Linked DNA regions of Homo sapiens: region 1 is linked to region 2. Evidence: promoter capture Hi-C in 16 types of primary human blood cells and fetal thymus (Javierre and others, 2016). All regions are on one chromosome and are shown on one strand. Each heading gives the region's core, a stretch centred on a gene start or on the middle of the fragment in contact. The rest is flanking DNA. Distances are from core to core; before and after follow the strand shown. Region 1 has its middle 11 kb from the start of BNIP2. Region 2 holds the start of ICE2 (interactor of little elongation complex ELL subunit 2).

Evidence for each region. The method cuts DNA at HindIII sites, captures the fragments that hold promoters and counts their contacts. A CHiCAGO score of 5 or more calls a contact.
Region 1: a fragment that was not itself captured here is called in contact with the fragment with the promoter of ICE2 in region 2 in 3 of 17 cell types (fetal thymus, M2 macrophages and monocytes); the score reaches 5.8 in fetal thymus.

Annotation. Positions count from the first base shown.
Region 1 is chr15:59,698,647-59,702,128 of GRCh38, reverse strand. No RefSeq gene overlaps it. Among named protein-coding and RNA genes, the nearest start is that of BNIP2, 11 kb to the right of the region's middle. The HindIII fragment of the contact is 1,672 bases long and covers 668-2,339 here.
Region 2 is chr15:60,477,753-60,481,054 of GRCh38, reverse strand. ICE2 (interactor of little elongation complex ELL subunit 2) reads left to right here and starts at 1,913. Exons shown (of 16, transcript NM_024611.6): 1 at 1,913-2,052; 2 at 2,986-3,118. The coding sequence starts at 3,078. It overlaps RORA-AS1 (RORA antisense RNA 1), which reads right to left and starts at 1,877. Exons shown (of 6, transcript NR_120342.1): 1 at 1,657-1,877. RefSeq lists enhancers at 2,112-2,639, 2,962-3,081. The HindIII fragment of the contact is 13,398 bases long and covers 22-3,302 here.

The DNA of each region.
Region 1 (3,482 bases), core at 254-2,753, 780 kb after region 2:
GGATGATTCAGATGGATCGTGTTGGGCGAGACAAAAGGCTGCTTACAATAATCCTATCTGCTTGCTGCACACGAGACATACCCAGATCCTTTTAATCCTCATGAGGTCTGATCATATCCTTGCTGGAGCAACCCACAGAAGTTACATGGTTGTGAACTTTTATGAGAGGGGAAAAACTGAAGAATTTCTCTGTGCAAAGGAGTCAAATCAGCGGCAAAATGTGTTACCTTTGTAGGATCAACACAGTTGATCCAGTGAATGGTACTATAGTCCTGAGAAAATGCGGAGAGAAAGTTTAGGTTTAAAAACAATTAACAAGGACAGAAAGGGAGGAGGGAGAAACAAGACAACTTCCTTTCAAGTAGAATCATTTACATAAAACATTACACCTGATAAAGGTGTCTGTCAGTGTGTGGGAGGGTCTGTATTTCTTCAGTTATTCACATCCAGAATGAATTAACTTGACACTAATTGCAGAAGGATTAAATTTATTCAATCTTTATAGACTACTCCTTGACTATTAAAATTAAATGAAGATAAAAATGAATTATTCTTTCCTAGATCAAAAATGAAATACCAAACCATTTTATAAGGGTGTAGGAGAAGATGGGCAGTGAAGACCACAACCTGTGACTTAAAAAAAATAAATAAACAGAAATAAGAAGCTTAATTTTGAATAGATTTGTTAATTTAACAAAAAGATTCCTTATTTAAGAGGTCCCTAGGACACCTTCGGAAATATATTGTACCCTAGCTAGAAGAACCTAAAAATACACACGTTTTTATTAATACTTTACAAATATATATAGCTGAGCCAAGAAATTCATTTGCTAGGGAGTGGTTTTTTTAATAGTCAAAACACAAAAAACAATTATTAAAATGAAAAAAAGAGCAAGTTTCAAGTGATTACATTTCAGCATGTGTTCTCTATACCACCAGGTTGGATAAGGAACTGAAGCAAAAACTATTACAAGAAGAGGCAGTCTTGGCCAGGCGTGGTGGCTCACATCTGTAATCCCAGGACTTTGGGAGGCCGAGGCGGGCAGATCGCTTGAGGCCAGGAGTCCAAGACCATCCTGGCCAACATGGTGAAACTCTGTCTCTACTAAAAATACAAAAATTAACCGGGCATGGTGGCACAGGCCTGTAATCCCAGCTACTCGGGAGGCTGGGGTAGGAGAATTGCTTGAACCTGGGAGGCAGAGGTTGCAGTGAGCAGAGACCACGCCATTGCACTCCAGCTGGGGCAACACAGCGAGACTCCGTCTCAAAAAAAAAAAAAAAAAAGAACAAAAAAGAAGAGGCAGTCTTATAGACAAAACTTTGAAGGAATTCTGCATTTTCAGAATGGGACTTAAACAAAAAACAATCAGTTCAAGGGAATGCCTGAAACTGTCATCTGTTTCTTCATATGTTGTTGCCTGGTTTCTAGTCTTAGGTAACGCAGATAGGAATGAAGTGGGAGGGAGTAGGGGGAGGAGGATCTACAAATTCAATGGTCGGATTGAAATTTTAAAGAAAATTTGCTGATTCTGAGTTCAGGGCTCTTTCACCTATACTGTGCAAACCTGAAAACTGTAAATGCCAAAATACTTTGTAAATATTCAGATTTTTAAAATCTTTCCTATTACCTGGTGTGGAATTATGTACATATTTGGATGGTCTTCTTGTGTTATGCCATTTTTTGAAAAGACAGAATATAGACATGTAAAATATAATTTTCAGATGCTTGTACTTAAACATTCACATAACATTTTAGTGAATTTCTAAAAATCAAGGAAATAATCATCTCAGCTTCAGGCACAATGCTAACTTAGATGAGTCATAGGTACGTCAGAAATTAATGATAAGGAAACAATGTCAGGGGAAGTTAGGTAACTTGCCTAAGGTCACAGAGACTATAGAAAAATAATAATTAAAATGCTTCTCCTAACTCCAACCAAGTTCGCACGCCTTCCATTTTAGCATAAGGTTTATGTGTTGAGCCCTTCTATGAAAAAGAATTGCATTTTAACATGGATCAGTGTCATAAGCTAATTAAGGAAAGATGAATAATGTAATTTCAGGCATCAGTCATCTTACTGATTCAAATCCTGCCCCCATACCTCAAACTACACACAAGGCATATAGATGGAATGGCATCTCATTCATGTATGTGTGTGTTTATGTCTTACATTAAAATCATTCATATTAAATGAGTAATCTGCTAAGGAATTAGTATTCCACTAAAAAAAAAGAATCTAGATGTTAGATATTAAGGATCTTTTAAAGAAGATAATTCATACTAAACTTCGCATTTCATTTCTCCCTATTATGTATATACCTGAAATTGGAAAGCTTTCTTCTTTTTCCTAGTAAGTACAATTTGGTGTTTTAGCAATTGTATTAGGAGAAGGTGTTTCTCCTTCTTTATCATAAAGGAACCACATAAATGAGAAATAATGTTACAATTTTAATATTTTCTTCTCAGTTATACTGAAATTCATTTTTAAAACTCAGTACATTTTTATCAATTTACAGAGTTCCCATGTTTCAAAATACAAACAATAACCTAGATTCTCTCAGCTGAGTAAGTTACTTTTAGGATGTAAACTATTTTTGGAAATATACTTGTAGAACATTTACCCATTGCAACAGTGAATTAGATGCCACCTTTTAATTTTTATATTTGTATTAAATAAAAATGCATGTGCCTTACATAGAGCCATATCAGTGCTTTGTTTTGTTAAATGTAATAAAATTTCCAATTGACCCAACAATTACTTGTGTATTTTGAAATGCATTTGTTTTCTCTAAACAAATAAGATTGCACTTTGACTCTAAAGATGCAGAATGAATGATTAATGCTTTGATGAAGGACAGTGTTATATCTAATTTTGTGTTAATCTGGATAAGGAGACTGAAACTGACCGCAAAACAGTTAGCTTTAGTTGATCAATTCTTACTTCCACTTACCCACCCCAAAAATAATTTAAAAAACATTATCACTACTAAAATTATCAATCAATCAAACAAACTGCTTTTTTCTAATTGGAGGCTATTGCTTATTCATGTTTTTCTAAATATAGTTGATCACAGTGTTACTAACATTTCATATCCTGAAGAACAGAAGAAAGAGCGAAATCTACTTCCCTCATCAAGATTAATCTTTACTTTAATTATAAACCAAGCATGCAGATACTATGTATTAATACTTTTGCAAGAGCATTAATTATTTCAGTGAAGAATCATTTTTGTAATGACCCCTGTTGAGTGTAGAAGATCTTGTATACTATTCAGTGTAGAGGATTCAGTGTACATGCATCACTGTCCATCAGCTACTTTCCAAATGGCGACCATGATAGTAACCAAGTGGTTGCTATGATTTTGCCAAAGTTTATGATTTTATAATATAAAATGTATATCCTCAGATAATTTTAAACTCATATTTGTAAGTTTTTATGACTGCAGAAATATCCTCACAAAGGACTTGAATATGAACT
Region 2 (3,302 bases), core at 664-3,163:
GATTGTGTCATTATGTAAGCTTTTTTGTTTGTTTGTTTCCTAGCATTTTATTTCTTATGCAATAAAGTCAAACTTCCTTAGTCTGGCTTATAAAATCTTACGTGTTCTAGCTTCAACCAGTTTTTCCAACCCCTTTTCCTCTACTACTCTTCAGAGACCTTGCATTCCAGGCAAAATAAACTACCTATGGTTTCCTGTAGCATATTTTTTACATTAACATAATTTCTAACAATATTCTAAATCAGTCTAAAATGTCAGCCAGGGGTAGTGGCTCACACCTGTAATCCCAGCACTTAGGGAGGCCAAGGTGGGCAGATCACTTGAGGTCAAGAGTTAAAGATCACCCTGGCAAACCCCATCTCTACTAAAAAAAAAATACAAAAATTAGCCAAGTGTGGTGGCATGCACTTGTAGTCCCAGCTACTAGGGAGACTGACGCAGGAGAATCGCTTGAACCCAGGTGGCAGAAGTTGCAGTGAGCTGAGATCACACCACTGCACTCCAGTCTGGGAGACTCTGTCTTAAAATAAAATGTAGAACATGCTTCCCTAATAGCACACACTAGATTCTGTTTATGCAATAAGTTTATGCAGTTCCTTGTATTAAAAAAAATTATAGGAGGCCATTGTTTAGAACTTCTGCACTAGACCCCAAGAGACCAGACTAAAATAAAAATGGTATCACTCAGGCTCACCACACCGAAACTGAGTTATGTGGCCCTCCAAGAAATCAGGAGACAGAGGTAACAGGCCAGTTTCAATTTTCAATCAGCAAGATAATGAATTTCCTCTGTTTTAGTCCCTACAGCAAAGAGTAACTTGAAGTAACCTGATGTTAACCAATCAGTTATCTTTCTATTGTACTGTCTGTCTCCACCTTACCAGGAAAGTAACTTTGAAATGATCAATCTGCTTTTTGTTCTTTGTTTCTACTTTCTACAGACCTTTTTTCTGTCCGTAATGCCAACCTCCTCTGTTCCACTCATTGGGACACTCATTCCATTTTATGGAATGAAGTGTTGCCTGATTCCAGAATCGCAATAAGGCCAACTGAGATCTTTAGATGTGTCAAATTTTTGTCTTTTGACACTTGTGCTGGTCTGTCTAGAACGCCCTTTCTCTTCATTCCACATACCCACATTCTTCAAATGAGCTCACACGGCAGGTGCTCAGTGCAGCAACTGACATGTAAGTACTCAATACTATTCAAAACTGCGTTTTGTCCCTCACACTAGCTATTCCTCTCCCTCTAACCTCAATCTATACACCTTTCTTATGTAGTTTATTACTTTCTATTGTATTTAATGTAAATGTCTTAGATTGCCAGAGATCCAAAGCACTGGAAAAATCAGTATTCAGTCTTAGTCCATGTGTACCCAGCACCAAGCACAAAGTACTCTGTTTACGGTCAATAAATCTTTCCGTAATGGATGAGAACAAAACTAGTGTTTGAACTCACAGCTAAAACTGGATGGGGAGTGGAGCGGAGGTGAAGGAGCACTTAATGAGGCCCTACTATGTGCCAGGTACTGTGCAGAGCACAGCTTCTTCCTTTGTTTCATTTAATCCTTTCCAAAAAACCGTATGATGCAGCAGTAACAATTTCATCTCCATTTTACATATGAGGAGTTTGGGTTACGGAAGTCAGGAAACTTGCCTGAGGTCACAACCAAGTATGTTTGGGTCTTTCCAGTACCGCACTTGTCGCTTGTCCGCCTTCCAATTTATCACTCCCCTCCTCTCCCCGACGAAGGTCGAGGACTTTCTAGGAAAACACGCAGTCTCCAACCACTTCCGCCTGGCGAGCCCAGTCTCGCACTTCGCTGCCAGAACCACAGCGAGCGCTTGTGGCGGGAGGAAAGGAGGGGAGCAGCCGTCAAGACGCAAGGCCCCGCCCACTATGTCGCTGAGACGTCATCACGCAGGGCCGAGTCGGCGCGGCCACATCCTTTAAATATGGTCTTTTTTGGGCGCGCGCGACAATGTGAGGAGTGGGGTGGAGCGTGTGTGGTGTGTGGCTGCGGCCTGGGCAAGAGCCGCCGCGGACCATGAGGTGGGCGGAAAGGCTGTGTTGCAGCCCAGACGCGGACGGGAGGGCGCTGCCGGGCCAGCGGGCGTGCTCATGCAGGGGCGGGAGGAGGGAACATGGCGGCCGGGCCAGGACCCTTTGCTCCTGGCTCTGCGCGGCTCCTACCCCTGCTTTGCTTGCCCTTTTACCTGCTTTTCTGGAACCTTGTTTCCCCTCTCTTTGCGTCCCCTTTCCCTCAGCCGTTTCTTTTGCCTTCCTCGACTATTCCCCCCCAGCTCCACACTGGGTCGAAGTGTGAGAGGTAGATTAAGTGGGAGCCGGTCGGGCCCGTTCGGTGTCGAGAGACCGACTCCTAAATTTGATTAGGTTCTCGCAGGTCACTTTATCAGTCTGCCTGGGGTCACAGGAGAAGTACTGAACATGAGAGATCAAGCCTGATTTGTAGTCCTGATGATGTCTGTAAGTGATCTTGTGAAATGTCACTTAAGTTGACCTCAAGTCTTCTCAAATGTGAGGTTCTTTGTGAAAGGCCTAAGATTCCTGATATCGAGGTAGCTTTTGTCATAAAGTGCCTGCCAGAATCTGCCCCATAACAAAGCATGGTCGGGAAAACAAAAGATTTATTTTGGCAGTAAGGGAATGGAAAACTGAGTTGACTTCCCGTTCCATGCCATCAAGTGGCCTAGTATGTAAGCAATGAGAACACCGTTCTGTTTCAGCTCTTATTTCCATAGTGAGTGTCCTGAGAGTAACACTCCCGGCGTAGATTAAATGGAAAAGGGCTCGTCCTGTATCGTCATTGCTGCTCTGCTACAAAGAACCTTGGGTCTGCTGTATTCTGTTTTAGGTGCCACAGTCTGTTGAGGGTAGATGTTTAGGGAGAGATTCTTCCTCACCTAATAGCACCTGGCCTAGCCAATCACTTGCTTTTGATCTTGGCCTTTTGTTTTTACTCAGCTGAGTAAGTTCTGGAGGGATCCTGCCTCTTGGAGCCTTCGCAGCCAGGCAGCTGTGAACTGTGAGCTAGAGTGAAGCAGAAATCTAGGAAGATGAGCTCCAAGATGGTCATAAGTGAACCAGGACTGAATTGGTGAGTTGTAGCCACTTTGTAATCCACTGAAGAGGAGTGTAGTGGGGCTGATGGTTGACATAAGAAAATAGATTTCTGGCATAGAGAGATTTGGAGGAAACAGAAAATACAAGTTTAGGGTCTCAGAATTTACCCTATCCTCATCTTCACATACGGAATGCTAGAGTTATGGCTGACTGTACTT